Regions from separate parts of the Homo sapiens genome. Here all the other regions are linked to region 2. The links are contacts of gene promoters, found by promoter capture Hi-C in blood cells and fetal thymus (Javierre and others, 2016). All regions are on one chromosome and are shown on one strand. The core of a region is centred on a gene start or on the middle of the fragment in contact, and the rest is flanking DNA. Distances in the headings are between cores, read along the strand shown. Region 1 overlaps NUSAP1 (nucleolar and spindle associated protein 1). Region 2 holds the start of CHAC1 (ChaC glutathione specific gamma-glutamylcyclotransferase 1). Region 3 overlaps CHP1 (calcineurin like EF-hand protein 1).

What was found. The method cuts DNA at HindIII sites, captures the fragments that hold promoters and counts their contacts. A CHiCAGO score of 5 or more calls a contact.
Region 1: a fragment that was not itself captured here is called in contact with the fragment with the promoter of CHAC1 in region 2 in 1 of 17 cell types (endothelial precursors); the score reaches 5.1 in endothelial precursors.
Region 3: a fragment that was not itself captured here is called in contact with the fragment with the promoter of CHAC1 in region 2 in 3 of 17 cell types (endothelial precursors, M1 macrophages and megakaryocytes); the score reaches 6.4 in endothelial precursors.

What each region holds. Positions count from the first base shown.
Region 1 is chr15:41,357,587-41,362,304 of GRCh38, reverse strand. NUSAP1 (nucleolar and spindle associated protein 1) reads right to left here. Exons shown (of 11, transcript NM_016359.5): 6 at 4,047-4,156. Among named protein-coding and RNA genes, the nearest start is that of NUSAP1, 27 kb to the right of the region's middle. The HindIII fragment of the contact is 1,388 bases long and covers 2,760-4,147 here.
Region 2 is chr15:40,950,098-40,954,733 of GRCh38, reverse strand. It overlaps CHAC1 (ChaC glutathione specific gamma-glutamylcyclotransferase 1), which reads right to left and starts at 1,263. Exons shown (of 3, transcript NM_024111.6): 1 at 920-1,263; 2 at 471-506. The coding sequence starts at 1,150. RefSeq lists a silencer at 1,530-1,789 and an enhancer at 1,461-2,054. The HindIII fragment of the contact is 14,830 bases long and covers 1-4,636 here.
Region 3 is chr15:41,252,979-41,257,597 of GRCh38, reverse strand. CHP1 (calcineurin like EF-hand protein 1) reads right to left here. Exons shown (of 7, transcript NM_007236.5): 3 at 608-688. Among named protein-coding and RNA genes, the nearest start is that of CHP1, 24 kb to the right of the region's middle. The HindIII fragment of the contact is 164 bases long and covers 3,105-3,268 here.

The DNA of each region.
Region 1 (4,718 bases), core at 2,204-4,703, 410 kb before region 2:
AGATTTATAACTATATAAGGTACCTTGGAATACAAGTTTTCCAATCTTTTTATTATAAATAAATAGATAAATTAATTAAAATAAATTAATTAAATGTAGGTATATATGTATTTGTTTATTTGAGATGGGGTTGTTCTATGTTGCCCAGCCTGGTCTTTGACTCCTGGGCTCAAGCAACCCTCCCACCTCAGCCTCCCAAGTAGGTGGGATAATAGGCATGAGCCACCACACCCAGATAGTTTTCTGATCTTTTTAGAGGGCCATTTGACAACTAGATCAAACAAGTCTGTCTTTTGTTATCATAAAAGTCAAAGAGAGGCTGTCATGGCCAGAATGATCTCTTTAGGATATCTGCTTATTACTGTCCATCACCATCTAAATGACCAAGCCCCAAATGTGCCAGGAGCAACTTCATCTCAGGTATGGTGAAGTTATTGTAATTTTTTTTTTTAATTCTCTAGTCTCCAAAGAGATCATACCAAGTTATATATCTGATAGGCCAGTTCCTTAAACATTCAGGGTGAACAGTGTTATTTTAGAACTAAACTCATTCAGATGGGTCTACCAGGCTGGAGTTATACTAAAAAGTAAGATAAACTATTCGTTTATTCAACACATTTTCTAGAGCAATACTCAACGTTTATGGTTGAGACAGTCGTTCTTGCTCTGTCCTTAACTTTTACTTAGAAAATTATGTCATCCATATTACAAAATATAGAAAGCAGCAGCTTGACTCTTTTTTTTTCTTTAGAGATGGAGTCTCACTGTATTGCCCAGGTTGGTCTTCAACACTGGGGCTCAAGTGATCCTTCGGCCTAACCCTCCCAAAGTTGTGGATTGACAGGTGTGAGCCACTGTGTCTGGCTGAAACATTTTTTTAAATTAACTTAAATTATTATTATTTTTTTTTTGAGATGGAGTTTCACTCTTGTTGCCCAGGCTGGAGTGCAATGGCATGGTCTCGGCTCACCGCAACCTCTGCCTCCCGGGTTCAAGCAATTCTCCTGCCTCAGCCTCCCGAGTAGCTGGGATTACAGACATGCGCCACCATGCCAAGATAATTTTGTATTTTTAGTAAAGATGGGGTTTCTCCATGTTGGTCAGGCTGGTCTCAAACCCCTGACCTCAGGTGATCCGCCTGCCTCAGCTTCCCAAAGTACTGGGATTACAGGTGTGAGCCACCACGCCCTGGCCTATTTTTTTTGTTTTTTGAGATGGAGTCTTGGTCTGTTGCCCAGGCTGGAGTGCAGTGGTGTGACCTCCATGCACTGCAACCTCCACCTCCTGGGTTCAAGCGATTCTCCTGTCTCAGCTTCCTGAGTAGCTGGGAGTACAGGCACCCACCACCATGGCCAGGTAATTTTTGTATTTTTAGTAGAGACAGGGTTTTGCCATGCTGGCAAGATCTGTCGAACCCGGGAGGTGCAGGTTGCAGTGAGCCAAGATCGCACCACTGCACTCCAGCCTGAGTGACACAGTGAGACTCATCGCAAAAAAAAAAAAAAAAAAAAGATGGATAAACAGTGCCTTCAAATGTGGTAACAGTGAGGACAGGAGTGGTGGCTCACGCCTGTAATCCCAGCACTTTGGGAGGCTGAGGTGGGTGGATCACCTGAAGTCAGGAGATCGAGACCAGCCTGGCCAACATGGTGAAACCCCATCTTTACTGAAAATATAAAAATTAGCAGGGGCTGGGCGCCGTGGCTTATGCCTGTGATCCCAGCACTTTGGGAGGCTGAGGCAGGTGGATCACAAGGTCAGGAGTTCAAGACTAGCCTGGCCAACATAGTGAAACCCCGTCTCTACTAAAAATACAAAAAATTAGCCAGGCGTGGTGGCAGGCACCTATAATCCCAGCTACTCAGGAGGCTGAGGCAGGAGAATTGCTTGAACCTGGGAGGTGGAAGTTGTGGTGAGCCAAGATCACGCCATTGCACTCCAGTCTGGGCAAGAAGAGTGAAACTGTGTCAAAACAAACAAACAAACAAACAAACAAAAATTAGCCGGGTGTGGTGGTGGTTGCCTGTAATCCCAGGTACTTGGGAGGCTGAGGTGGGAGAATCACTTGAATCCAGGAGGTGGAGGTTGCAATGAGCCAATATTGTGTCACTGCACTCCAGCCTGGGCAACACAATGTGACTCCATCTAAAAAAAATAAATAAAATTACAAATACAAATATTAGCTGGGTGTGGTGGTGGGCACCTGTAATCCCAACTACTTGGGAGGCTGAGGCAAAATAATCTGCTGCATCCGGGAAGCAGAGGTTCCAGTGAGGCAAGATCGCACCATTGCACTCCAGCCTGGGTGACAGAGTGAGACTGAGTCTCAAAAAAAAAAAAAGTTTGACAAACAGTGCCTTCAAATGTGGTAACAGTGAGGATGGGAGCAATGGCTCATGCATGTAATACCAGCACTTTGGGAGGTGGGTTGATCACCTGAGGTCAGGAGTTCAAGACCAGCCTGGCCAACATGGTGAAAACCCGTCTCTACTAAAAATAAAAAAATTAGCTGGGTGTGGTGGTGGGCGCCTGTAATCTCAGCTACTGGGGAGGCTAAAGGCAGGAAAATCACTTGAATCAGGGAGGCAGAGGTTGCAGTGAGCTGAGACTGTACCATTGCCCTCCAGTCTGGGCAACAAGAGCGAAACTCTGTCTCAAAAAAAAAAAAGAAAAGAAAAGAAAAAAAATGGTTGTAACAGTGGTTTTACATCGTTAAAATGAATGTTTATTATTTCAATTAAGCTTCTCACCAAGAAGCTTAAGTACTTAAATTATTTACAATTTATCACCCAGTGAGTTTTCCTCTTGGCCCTAGCTGCCAGAAAACTTAAACTCAGCTGAGTGACTGATGGTAGTAAATACTGTACCTACTAACAGTGCTAATTTTCTGCCGCTTTTAAATTGACTATACTATTTTATATTTAATACCATAAACTTACATTATTTTGAGAATAGGCCTTAAATTCTTTTTGAGAAATAGGGAAGTTATGTAAAATAAACATGGGGTTAAGAATTAAATACAGCGAATAGAAATAAATATAATCTGGTGGCTCACACCTGTAATCCCAGCACTTTGGGAGGCTGAGGTGGGAGGATCACTTGAGCCTAGGCGTTCAAGGAGAGCCTGGGAATCATAGGGAGACCCTGTCTTTATGAGAAAAATACATAAATCCATAAATATTTAAAAATGTGTTTCCTGCCCTCCATTCGGCACTGCCTTAACACCAGATACCAATAACATCAACTTGCTAGAATGTTACTCACTACTTTGCTAACTCAGCCTCAGAGTTGACTTTATCACCTTCTCTTACTTGAGGAGGCTTTGAGTCCTGTGGAACCTGGACTGAAAGCCCTCGAGGGAGCTGTTACCACAGGAACCCTTCAGGTTTGCCACTATTAATCACCCATTTTCCTTTACATAAGGGACGAGGGAAAGAAGATGGCTTCAGCCATAAGTTGGTTCATCATCAATGAAAGTAATAGGCAAAACATCTGAATATGGAAAGTAGAATGACATTGCCATTTTGGAAATAGTTTCTCATAGTCAGGATTCACTGTTTTCTTTTTTTTTGAGACGGAGTCTCACTCTGTCACCCAGGCTGGAGTGCAGTGGCGCGATCTCAGCTCACTGCAATGTTGGCCTCCTGGTTCAAGTGATTCTCCTGCCTCAGCCTCCTGAGTAGATGGGATTACAGCCATGTGCCACCCCCTACTAATTTTCTGTATTTTTTGTAGAGACAGGGTTTCACCATGTTGCCCAGGCTGGCCTTGAACTCCTGACCTGAGGTAATCCACTTGCCTTGGCCTCCCAAAGTGCGGGGATTACAGGCATGAGCCACTGCGCTTGGCCATGGATTCACTGTTTTATCTAGAGGACTTTGAAAATTCTCAGGGTAGGGGAAAGCAAGTTTTAGATAAAGATATATTAAATTCAAACAAATCTACTGGTAGAGTGACAGCCAGTTGTTGTAACCACGGTGTTATATAGTTTCAAAATTATAATCAAACAGTTTAGTTCCATTAAGAACATAATTTTATCTACATACCTTCAGTTCATTCATGGAATTGTGTTCTTCAAAATGTTTCTTTTTTCTCTCAATATATTGATCAATGGACTCCATTTCCTTAAAATGAGCTTCATGAAGCTTCTTAAAGTCTAGAATGTTCCAATATAAAAATTAATAACAAAACAAAATCCATTTATTTATCTTCTCTGTGTTTTTCTGTTAACACTTATTCTCTTCTTTGCATCCCTGACATTCAACTTCAATATAATTTTTGCTAAAACATTAATTTCAAAATACTTAGTTTTTGGAAACTCAGGGGCAAAGCACATTCATCTTATAAACTATCAAACATTCACCATCTCCCCACTGACAAATTTCACTAAATTGACATCTTGGTTTAATCCAGAGGATTAGAGTAGAAGATTTATCTTCTCCCCTACCAATTAGTCACAAGTGGTCTTTATTTAATAATGAATTTGATATTTTATAATGCTGTATGTCAAGGACTGACAAATTTATTCTATAAAGGGCTAGATAAAAGTATTTAAGACTTGGCTGGTCATGGTGGCTCAACACCTGTAATCTCAGCACTTTGGGAAGCCAAAGCGGTCAGATCACCTGAGGTCAGGAGTTCGAGACCAGCCTGACCAACATGGAGAAACCCCATCTCTACTAAAAATACAAAAATTAGCCAGGTGTGGTGGCGCACGC
Region 2 (4,636 bases), core at 14-2,513:
TACTCGGGAGGCTGAGGTGGGAGAATCGCTTGAATCTGGAAGGCAGATGTTGCAGTGAGCCAAGATTGCATCACTGCACTCCAGCCTGGGCAACAGAGCAAGACTCTGTCTCAAAAACAAACAAACAAAACAACAACAACAACAACAAAAAAAAAAAACAGTTGACAAAGTGGTCTAGTACCAGGGAAGACAGGATTCCTCCTCAAAGTGTGGTCCAGGATGTGGTGGCATCACCTGTAAGCTAGTTAGGAATGCTGTGTCTCAGGACCCATTCTCATGCTACTGAACTAAAATCTGCATTCTAACAAGATCCTCATGTGATTTGGTGAGAAGCACTGAGCTAGAACACGTTTCTACTCTGCCAGAGAAGCATCAGACAGAGCTAGCCTGCAGCCAAGAGCCTATGAGCTCTCTCTGCTGGTCCCCCTTCACACTGGGCCAGGGTTCCCCTTCATGATTCGGGCACTTACCTCATGATCTTCAAGGAGCGTCACCACACGGCCAGGCTAGGGAGGGAAGAAATATTTTGAAATAGACAAGTTAGAAATCAGCTCTGCCATCAGCAAGGAAACCTTTATCAATCCCGCTGACCCGGGCCTCCAAGTGCCCCACTCTGCATGCTGAGTCCCATTCATGCAGGGGAAGGTGGGGGAGCGATGCACGGATGTAGGAGAAACGTCCAGAAACACTGACATGTCAGTGGTCCCAGTTGGTGATCAACACAGGGATCCACAGGTTCACAGACTCCAGCCATCACAGTGATGCACTGGGCACATACATTTAAATGAGCCACAAACCCCAGACACAGGTTTACACATTTCTTTCTATTGGCCCAGAGAGCCCCGGACATTCCAGGGCACTGGCGCCCAGTATCCCGCCCCCAACCCCCTCACTCCCCTGGGCACGGTTGGATGCTCACCATCTTGTCGCTGCCCCGATGGAAGGTGTCTCCCTGCCAGAAACGGCGGCTGTAGCCGCGCACGAAGCCCACACGGCTGTCGCTGTAGGCGAAGTCGGGCCTCCACACCAGGGAGCCGTACCCGAAAATCCACAGCGCTTGAGGGTCGCCGTCGTTTCGGGGGAACTGAGCGGACGGCGTAGGGGACTGCGAGGTGGGCGGGGTGTTCGGGGCTGCAGACTCCTGCTTCATGGTGCCTGGCACAGGGATAGGCCCAGGCGGCCTCCGGGGCTGGTCTCCGGCGTGGGCACGGAAAGACCGACGGACGCACACACCTGGCCTGGCACCGCTCGGTAGCTCCAGCTGAGCGCCCCCCATGGAGGCGCCCTTTAAACCTTCTTGCCGGGAGACCACGCCCACCGCGGCCAGCTGCCGCGGTGATTGGGGTGGGGCAAATCCCCTTTTGGCCAATCAACTTCGGATTCTGCTTCTCACTTAACCGCGCCGCGGGCCCAGCGCGCCCGCTGATTGGTTCAGCTCCACCTCTGTGGCAAACCTGGCAGGAGTGATGCAACGGCAGGGGAGGTTTCTCCAGCGCCGGCATGCAGCAAGGGCGCCTCGGATTGCGTCAGGCGGCGGGCAGGGGGCACCCGCCGGGCCCAGGGCGGGCACCGGGCGGGCGTCTCCCCAGCCGCCCCCTCATGACCTGGGCCCCTTGGAGGTACGGCGAGCGAGTCCCAGGCGGTGTCAGCCCAGCCTTGCCGCTAGTGCATCTGGCCGAGTCCCTGCCAGCCTAGGCGGCACAGACTCAGTCCCAAGTCGAGTCCAGGGCACGTCCAGAAGGAGCGCTCTGGGCGTCGTAAACTTCCGTCTCTGGGGCCCCTCCTGAGATCATGCACTGCGGGAAAGCTGTCGGAGGCACCGTCCGCATTCCGCTCAAGTGCCTCACGCCGTTGGCCATTGTGAGCAAATGGAGAAACTGGGCCACGGGGCTGCAGGGGGTTCTGCAGAGACTGCGGGGCTGAGTTAGGTAGGCCAGGCGCCCGGAGCTTGCAGGCCTCACATGGGCTACGCCCCGGACCAGGTGTGGGACCCCTCGAGCCCAGGTAGGCTCGGGGAAGAGCCTGTTAGAGCGCTTGGACCGACCGGCAGTCACTTTGGAGGTGGTGGCTGCACCTGCGGAGAAAGGCTATAAAGATGCAAAAGCCAGGCTAGTCTTGCCCCCAAGGCGATGGGTTTAATTCTTCCTGGACGTGAGATTTTGCAGCAATGATTAATCCATAGGCACAAGGTTCCGGGAGCAGCGGGCAAGGAGGGCCCAGTGAGGCCCCCACAAGACTATGGCCAGCTACTGGTCTTCTCCCTCGGCTTCTGGCCTCCCAGCCGAGTCCACAGGCCGCCGGGGGTTGACCCAATACGCAGCAAGGGACTGCCCTCAGGGGATGTCACTGACTGTAAAAGGGAAACAGAGGCAGCTGAAGGCCTTCTCTCTAAACTGGCCAGGAGATGGCTGGCAGGGGCAATGTGCAACATGGCTTCTCATTCGATTCTAATTCAATATTTAAACTAAACGTGATCTTCACACTTCACATATTCATTCCGAAGGTGTCGCAGATATAAGTGGGAAACTTGCACAACAGTGTGTATAGTACAAAGCTATTTCTTTAAAAACAAAAAGTATTCGTGTAATAAATAATCTGGAAGAATATACCTAAACAGTTAGCAGAGGCTGGCACCAGAGGAGGACTTTCAGTATCAAACTTAAACAGTAATGAAAAAGTCTGGATTTTTACAGGGAGCATGAATTACTTTTCCAATCAGGAAAAAAAAAAAATTACCAGCAAATGGTCCTTTCTGGTTATTCCTTTCTTTTTCGCTTTCTCTCCATTTCCCACATTCAGTCTCCCTCTTCTCTTCTATCCTGTCCCCTTTCGTTCATATGAGCACCTCCTTTGTTGGTAGCTTCTTAGAAGAATGTCCTCTTTTCCACTCACCAGCTGTGGGTTGTAGTCCGGGAAGTGGGAAACTGGTATCCACATATTGCTGAAGTATCTGAATTGGCACAAACAACCCTTTGAGAAAGCAGCTTGGTGATACAAGTCAAGAATCACAAAATATCCCTGCCCTTTGACCCAATACTCCTTCAGGAAATTATTCAAAATACGGGAAAAGCCATATGCCTGAAGATTTTCAATGCATTGTTACTTTTTTTTTTTTTTTTTTTTTTTTTTTTTTTTTTTGAGGTGGAGTCTCTCTCTGTTGCCCAGGCTGGAGTGCAGTGGCACAATCTCGGCTCACTGCAACCTCCGCCTCCCAGGTTCAAGCGATTCTCCTGCCTGAGCCTCCCGAGTAGCTGGGACTACAGGCACCTGCCACCACGCCTGGATAATTTTTGTATTTTTAGTAGACACGAGGTTTCGCCATATTGGCCAGGCTGATCTCAAACTCCTGATTTTGTGATCCGCCCACCTTGGCCTCCCAAAGTGCTGAGATTACAGGCGTGAGCCACCACGCCCGACCTTTACATATTATAGCAAAAACAAAAGAAGAAAAACTACTTAAATATCCAAAATTAGCTAAATGTTTAAGGAAATTATGTCAATTTACCATTCACATGACAGAAAAATGTGCACATACACACACACACAAACACAAAGAAAACAACCTAAATACCCAGCAATAGATAATTAGTTACATAAATATGATATAGTCCATTAAATTTGTGCAGACATTAGAAACAATATGTATGTTGGGCCGGGTGCAGTGGCTCACGCCAGTAGTCTTAGCACTATGGGAGGCCAAGGTGGGCAGACTGCCTGAGCTCAGGAGTTCGAGACCAGCCTGGGCAACATGGTGAAACCCCGTCTCTTCTAAAAATACAAAAAAAATTAGCCGGGCATGGTGGCAGGTGCCTGAAATCCCAGTTACTCGGGAGGCTGAGGCAGGAGAATTACTTCAACCCAGGAGGCAGAGGTTGCAGTGAGCCAAGATCCCACCACTGCAGTCCAGCCTGGGCAACAGAGCACGAGTTTGTCTCGGGAAACAAACAAACAAAACAAACAAAAAAAACGTAGTAAACATGTGTATGATTGCATATTAAGGCAAAAATGCAAAATATAAATTTTCACATGAACTATGATTAAAACTTAAAAACAGTAACAATAAAGATAGGGAGGCAGCAAATACTAGTGTGTTGGGATTGTGAGCAATTCTTTCCTCTATTTTCCAAGTTTTATGAAAAGTAATTTTTAAATAATAATAAGTTAATTTTTGCTGGGCGTGGTGGTTCACACCTGTAATCTCAGCACTTTGGGAGGCCAAGCAGGAGGATCACTTGAGCTCAGGAGTTTGAGACCAGCCTGGGAAACATAATGAAACCTCATCTCTACAAAAAAATTTTTAAAAATTAGCCGGGCTTAGCAACATGCACCTGTAGTCCCAGCTACTCAGGAGACCGAGGCAGGAGGGTTGCTTGAGCCCAGGAGGTCGAGGCTGTAGTGAGCCATGATTGTGCCACTGCTCTCTAACCTGGGCAACAGAGCAAGATCCTGTCTAAAAAAAAAAAAAAAAGTTACTTTTAAAGAGTCATTAGTGGTTTTCTGGAGGGGGAGGGATGGATAGCATACCTGAAACATTTAGGGAACATTTTCATGATGCCCGTTCTCAGACCTCCTCCCACCCTGACCAAAGTCCCAGTGTTTCATAACTCTTTTGGCAATGTCCTCAATAACCTGATCT
Region 3 (4,619 bases), core at 1,937-4,436, 300 kb before region 2:
ACCGAGCAAGACTCTGTCTTAAAACAAACAAACAAACGAAAAAAGGATCTCAGTTATTTTTAATATTGATTATATATGGAAATAATATTTTAAATATATTAAATAAAATATATATTACCAAAGTTAACTTATTTTTACTTTTTAAATGTGGTTACTAGAAAATGTAAAATTACGTATGTGGCTTGCATTATATTTTTATTGGCTACTACTAAGAAGAGAGCACACAAATGAGGCAAAATGTTAACAATATAACAGTAGATGCATCAGGGCAATAAATATACAAGTATTCTCCGAATTACTTTTAACTTTTGCAACTTTTTTGTAAATTTGAAATTATTTCCAAATAAACATTTTTTAAAAGTCTAGTTTTACATCAATGATAAACATAAGAATTTTGAAGATAGGCTCATATATCTATTTGAAGTTTAAAACACACAGGAGGGTAGAACAGAAGAGATATTCTAGAAATGACAAAATTAGAATTGCTCAATATAATCAGGGGGTATCACAGTCTGAGATGGCACAACCAATATCATTATTCCAGATTAGCAAATAATTTAGGTTGTGATAGCCTCAGGAAGGAAGTCCAACAACTGTACTGACTCACCCCTCTGGAAAGAAGGCATTGATGATCCGGTCCCCCAGTGGGTTGATGGCAAGTTCTGGAATCCTCTGGAAATCTTCCCGGCTGCCAAGAGAATCACCTTGAGTTAGATAGAGATCATTGCCCTTAGCATGAACTCCTTAAGTCAGGAGGTAACAGGGTGTAACCTAGCAAGAATATTACCTCCTGGAATTTACTTCTGTGGCAAATTATACCAAATAACTGCAAAGAATAGCACTTTAATAGCTGCCAAGTGTTTCTTGCACCAACTCAGAAGTGGAAGGAGCCAGATTTGATTACGCCACATTCCAGTGAATTTAGCACACAGGTTACGTCAATAAGCCAACTGATGGACAAATACTAAGCTGTCCCTTAGTAAATGATTTCTTGAACATTAGCATTGCGTACCTAGTTATTAAGTTTGGAAAGTGAACAGCAAATGGAAAGTATCAAATACTGCAGAACTTGAATATGGGGACAAACACTTAGAGGGGTCTCCATATCCTTGTTAAGATTTTTAGGCACTTACAAAATGCAAGGAATTCTTAGGTGCTATTTACATGCAAGGAAATAATGTGACAACCAATTGATTTCCTTGTTCTGACTCTGGCTTTTTCTCCATTTCCATGTTCTGTGGACTAGGGCTACAGAAGTATTTAACCCTCAAACATGACAAGAGCAGTCATCCTCACATGACTTAGGCGAGGTTATACCAAAGCGAATATTGTCAGTTACCATTCATCACATATATATCATGTGCTGCTCTGTTTACATACATTATTCTCATTTCTTCACGCCAATGTTTTATGTATACCCTTTTAGAGCTGAGGAAATTGAGAGTCAGGAAGATAAAGTAACTTGCCCAAAGCCACACTACTCCTAAGTAGCAGAACTGTGATTTAAATCTAAGTCTGTAAGTCAAAGTATGTGTTCTTTTTCTAAAAACCATATTTCTTTCCTATATTGAACTTTTTTTTGAGACAGAGTCTTGCTCAGTCACCCAGGCTGGAATGCAATGGCATGGTCTTGGCTCACTGCCACCTCCACTTCCCAGGTTCAAGCGATTCTCCTGCCTCAGCCTCCCAAGTAGCTGGGATTACAGGCACTCTCCACCACGCCTGGCTAGTTTTTTGTACATTTAGTAGAGACGGAGTTTCACCATGTTGGCCAGGCTGGTCTTGAACTCCTGACCTCAGGTGATCTGCCGGCCTCGGCCTCCCAAAGTGCTGGGTGGGATTACAGGAGTGAGCCACGGTGCCCAGCCCTAATATTGAACCTTTTGAATGAAAGTTACTCTCCCCCAAATTCTTTATTTTTATTTTTTTGAGATGGAGTTTCGCTCCCAGGCTGGAGTGTAGTGGCTTGATCTCTGGGTTCACTGCAACCTCCTCCTCCCGGGTTCAAGCGATTCTACTGCTTCAGTCTCCCAAGTAGCTAGCATTACAAGCGGGTGCTACCATGCCCGGCCAATTTTTGTATTTTTAGTAGAGGTGGGGTTTTACCACATTGGCCAGGCTGGTCTTGAACTCCTGACCTCAGGTGATCCACCCACCTCAGCCTCCCAAAGTCCTGGGATTACAGGCGTGAGCCACCGCACCCAGTCCCCCAATTTTTCAATAAGTATTTTTTAAAAACTTTCTTTTGTTGGTTCCTGGGCCAAGAATACAAAGCTGTCTACAACTTATCTGTGCTGCAGTCTTCAAAAATATCAATGTCATGGAGGACAAAGAAAAGCAGAGGATTGTTCCAGATCAAGGGGGGGCTAAAGAGACACACAACAAAACCCAACACATGATCCCGGACTAGGAAAAAAACTGCTATAAGGACATTATTGGATAATATGTGAAAATGAAGCATGGACCATATAAAATATGGAATATTACATAATGGTACTGTTTCAAAATGCAACTTTCTTGATTTTGATCTGAGAATGTCCTTTCTATAGGAAATAAACAGTGAAGTATGTGACAAAATGTTAACAATTGGTGAATCTGGGTATCAGAATAAAAGTTATCTTGTATTGTTCTTGTAACTTCAAGTTTAAAATTATTTCCAGATAAAAAGTTAAAAAAAAGATTATAAACTAGATTTTACTCCTGCCTTCAAGAAGTTTACTTACAGACAGATAAAATGTATACCTCCACCCTCTTTGTAATATATGCTAGCAAAGACGGAAGATAATAAAATACTCCTACTGTACCCAGGAGACTTCACGCTCTTTTCCTCTTGTGGTTTAACGTTTACGTGGTGCTTAATTAACTCAGCAAGCTCTTCTCCACCACATTTGGTGACACAGGTAGAAACTGACCTAGTGGACTGAACACAAAGCTCTGGAACAATCATCCTGGATTCTAGTCCTTCTTGACCATTTAGTGTAATAATTTTATATCAATGCATGAACCAGAAGAAGTCATTCATAAGATAACTGGATTGCTTAAGATGATGAAAGAGAAAATTACCGAGGTCCTGATTATTTAATTCAACAAACATGTACTAAGCTTTTATTACATAATTTGTTCTGTAATACAAAGTCTACACTATCATCAAAATGTAGCTCCTCCTGTCTGACAGAGGTCAAGAAACAATAACTACTCACTTTTAAATTAAGACTAAGGCTGATTTGAATTGCATGGCTACATACTTCAGTTTAATGTCTAACAAGCTTAAGAAACTTTAGCTGAGAAAAGGCAGTTTAAATACCAAGTCTAGTATCAAGTGGTGATGCACAACCTAGCCTGAACTTCAGTCTCAATAAGGAGGTGTACACTTGGCCTTCCGATGGACCTGTCCTTTGATACTTTCTAACTCTACTCTTAGAATTTAGATTGTATATATAATGTAGTTCCAGTCACCCAGATCAAGGACAGTATTGCTAAAAGTATTAAAGTTAAAAAGAAAGAGGGCTGGGTATGGCAGCTCAGCCTATAATCCCAGCACTTTTGGAGGCCAAGGTGGAAGAACTGCTTCAGGCTAGGAGTTCGAGACCAGCCTGGGCAACAGAGCAAGACCACATCTCTAAAAAGTTTAAAAAAAAAAAAAAAATTAGCCAGGCATGGTGGCACGTGCCTGTAGTCCCAGCTACTTGGGAAGCTGAAGCGGGAGGATTGTTTGAGCCTAGAAGGTCAAGGCTGCAAGGAGCCATGGTAACATCACTGCCCTCGAGCCTGGGTGACAGAGTGAGACCCTGTTTCAAAACAGAAAAAACAAAACAAACAGAAAGAGTATAAAAAATAATTTGTCAGCCGGGCGCAGTGGCTCACACCTGTAATCCCAGCACTTTGGGAGGCCGAGGCGGGAGGATCATGAGGTCAAGAGATGAAGACCAACCTGGCTAACACGGTGAAACCCCGTCTCTACTAAAAAAACAAAAAATTAGCTAGGCGTGGTGACGGGCACCTGTAGTCCCAGCTACTCGGGAGACTGAGGCAGGAGAATGGCATGAACCTGGGAGGTGGAGGTTGCAGTGAGCCAAGATTGCGCCACTGCACTCCAGCCTGGTGACAGAGCAAGACTCCGTCTCAAAATAAATAAATAAATAAATAAATAAATAAATAAATAAATAAATAAATACTTTGTCAACTGTTAAATAAATAATATACGAACAAGTTATTATTACTGGTTGCTTTATAGTAGAATGTAGATCTGGGCAGTTTCTCTAAAACTTAGATTCTCAAATTTACCCATCAACATAAACCTAATAGAAAAAAATAAATACTCCAAAGTGGCCTAAACACCACAAGCATAAGATCCATCCGAAGGCCGGGCACAGTGGCTCACGCCTGTAATCCCAGCACTTTGGGAGGCTGAGGCAGGTGGATCACGAGGTCAAGAGATCAAGACCATCCTGGCCAACATGGTGAAACCCCGTCTCTACTAAAAACACAAAAATTAGCTGGGCATGGTGGCGCGAGCCTGTAGTCCCAGCTACTCTGGAGGCTGAGAAAGGAGAATCACTTGAACCTGGGAGGTGGAGGTTGCAGTGAGCCAAGATTGCGCCACTGCACTCCAGCCTGGT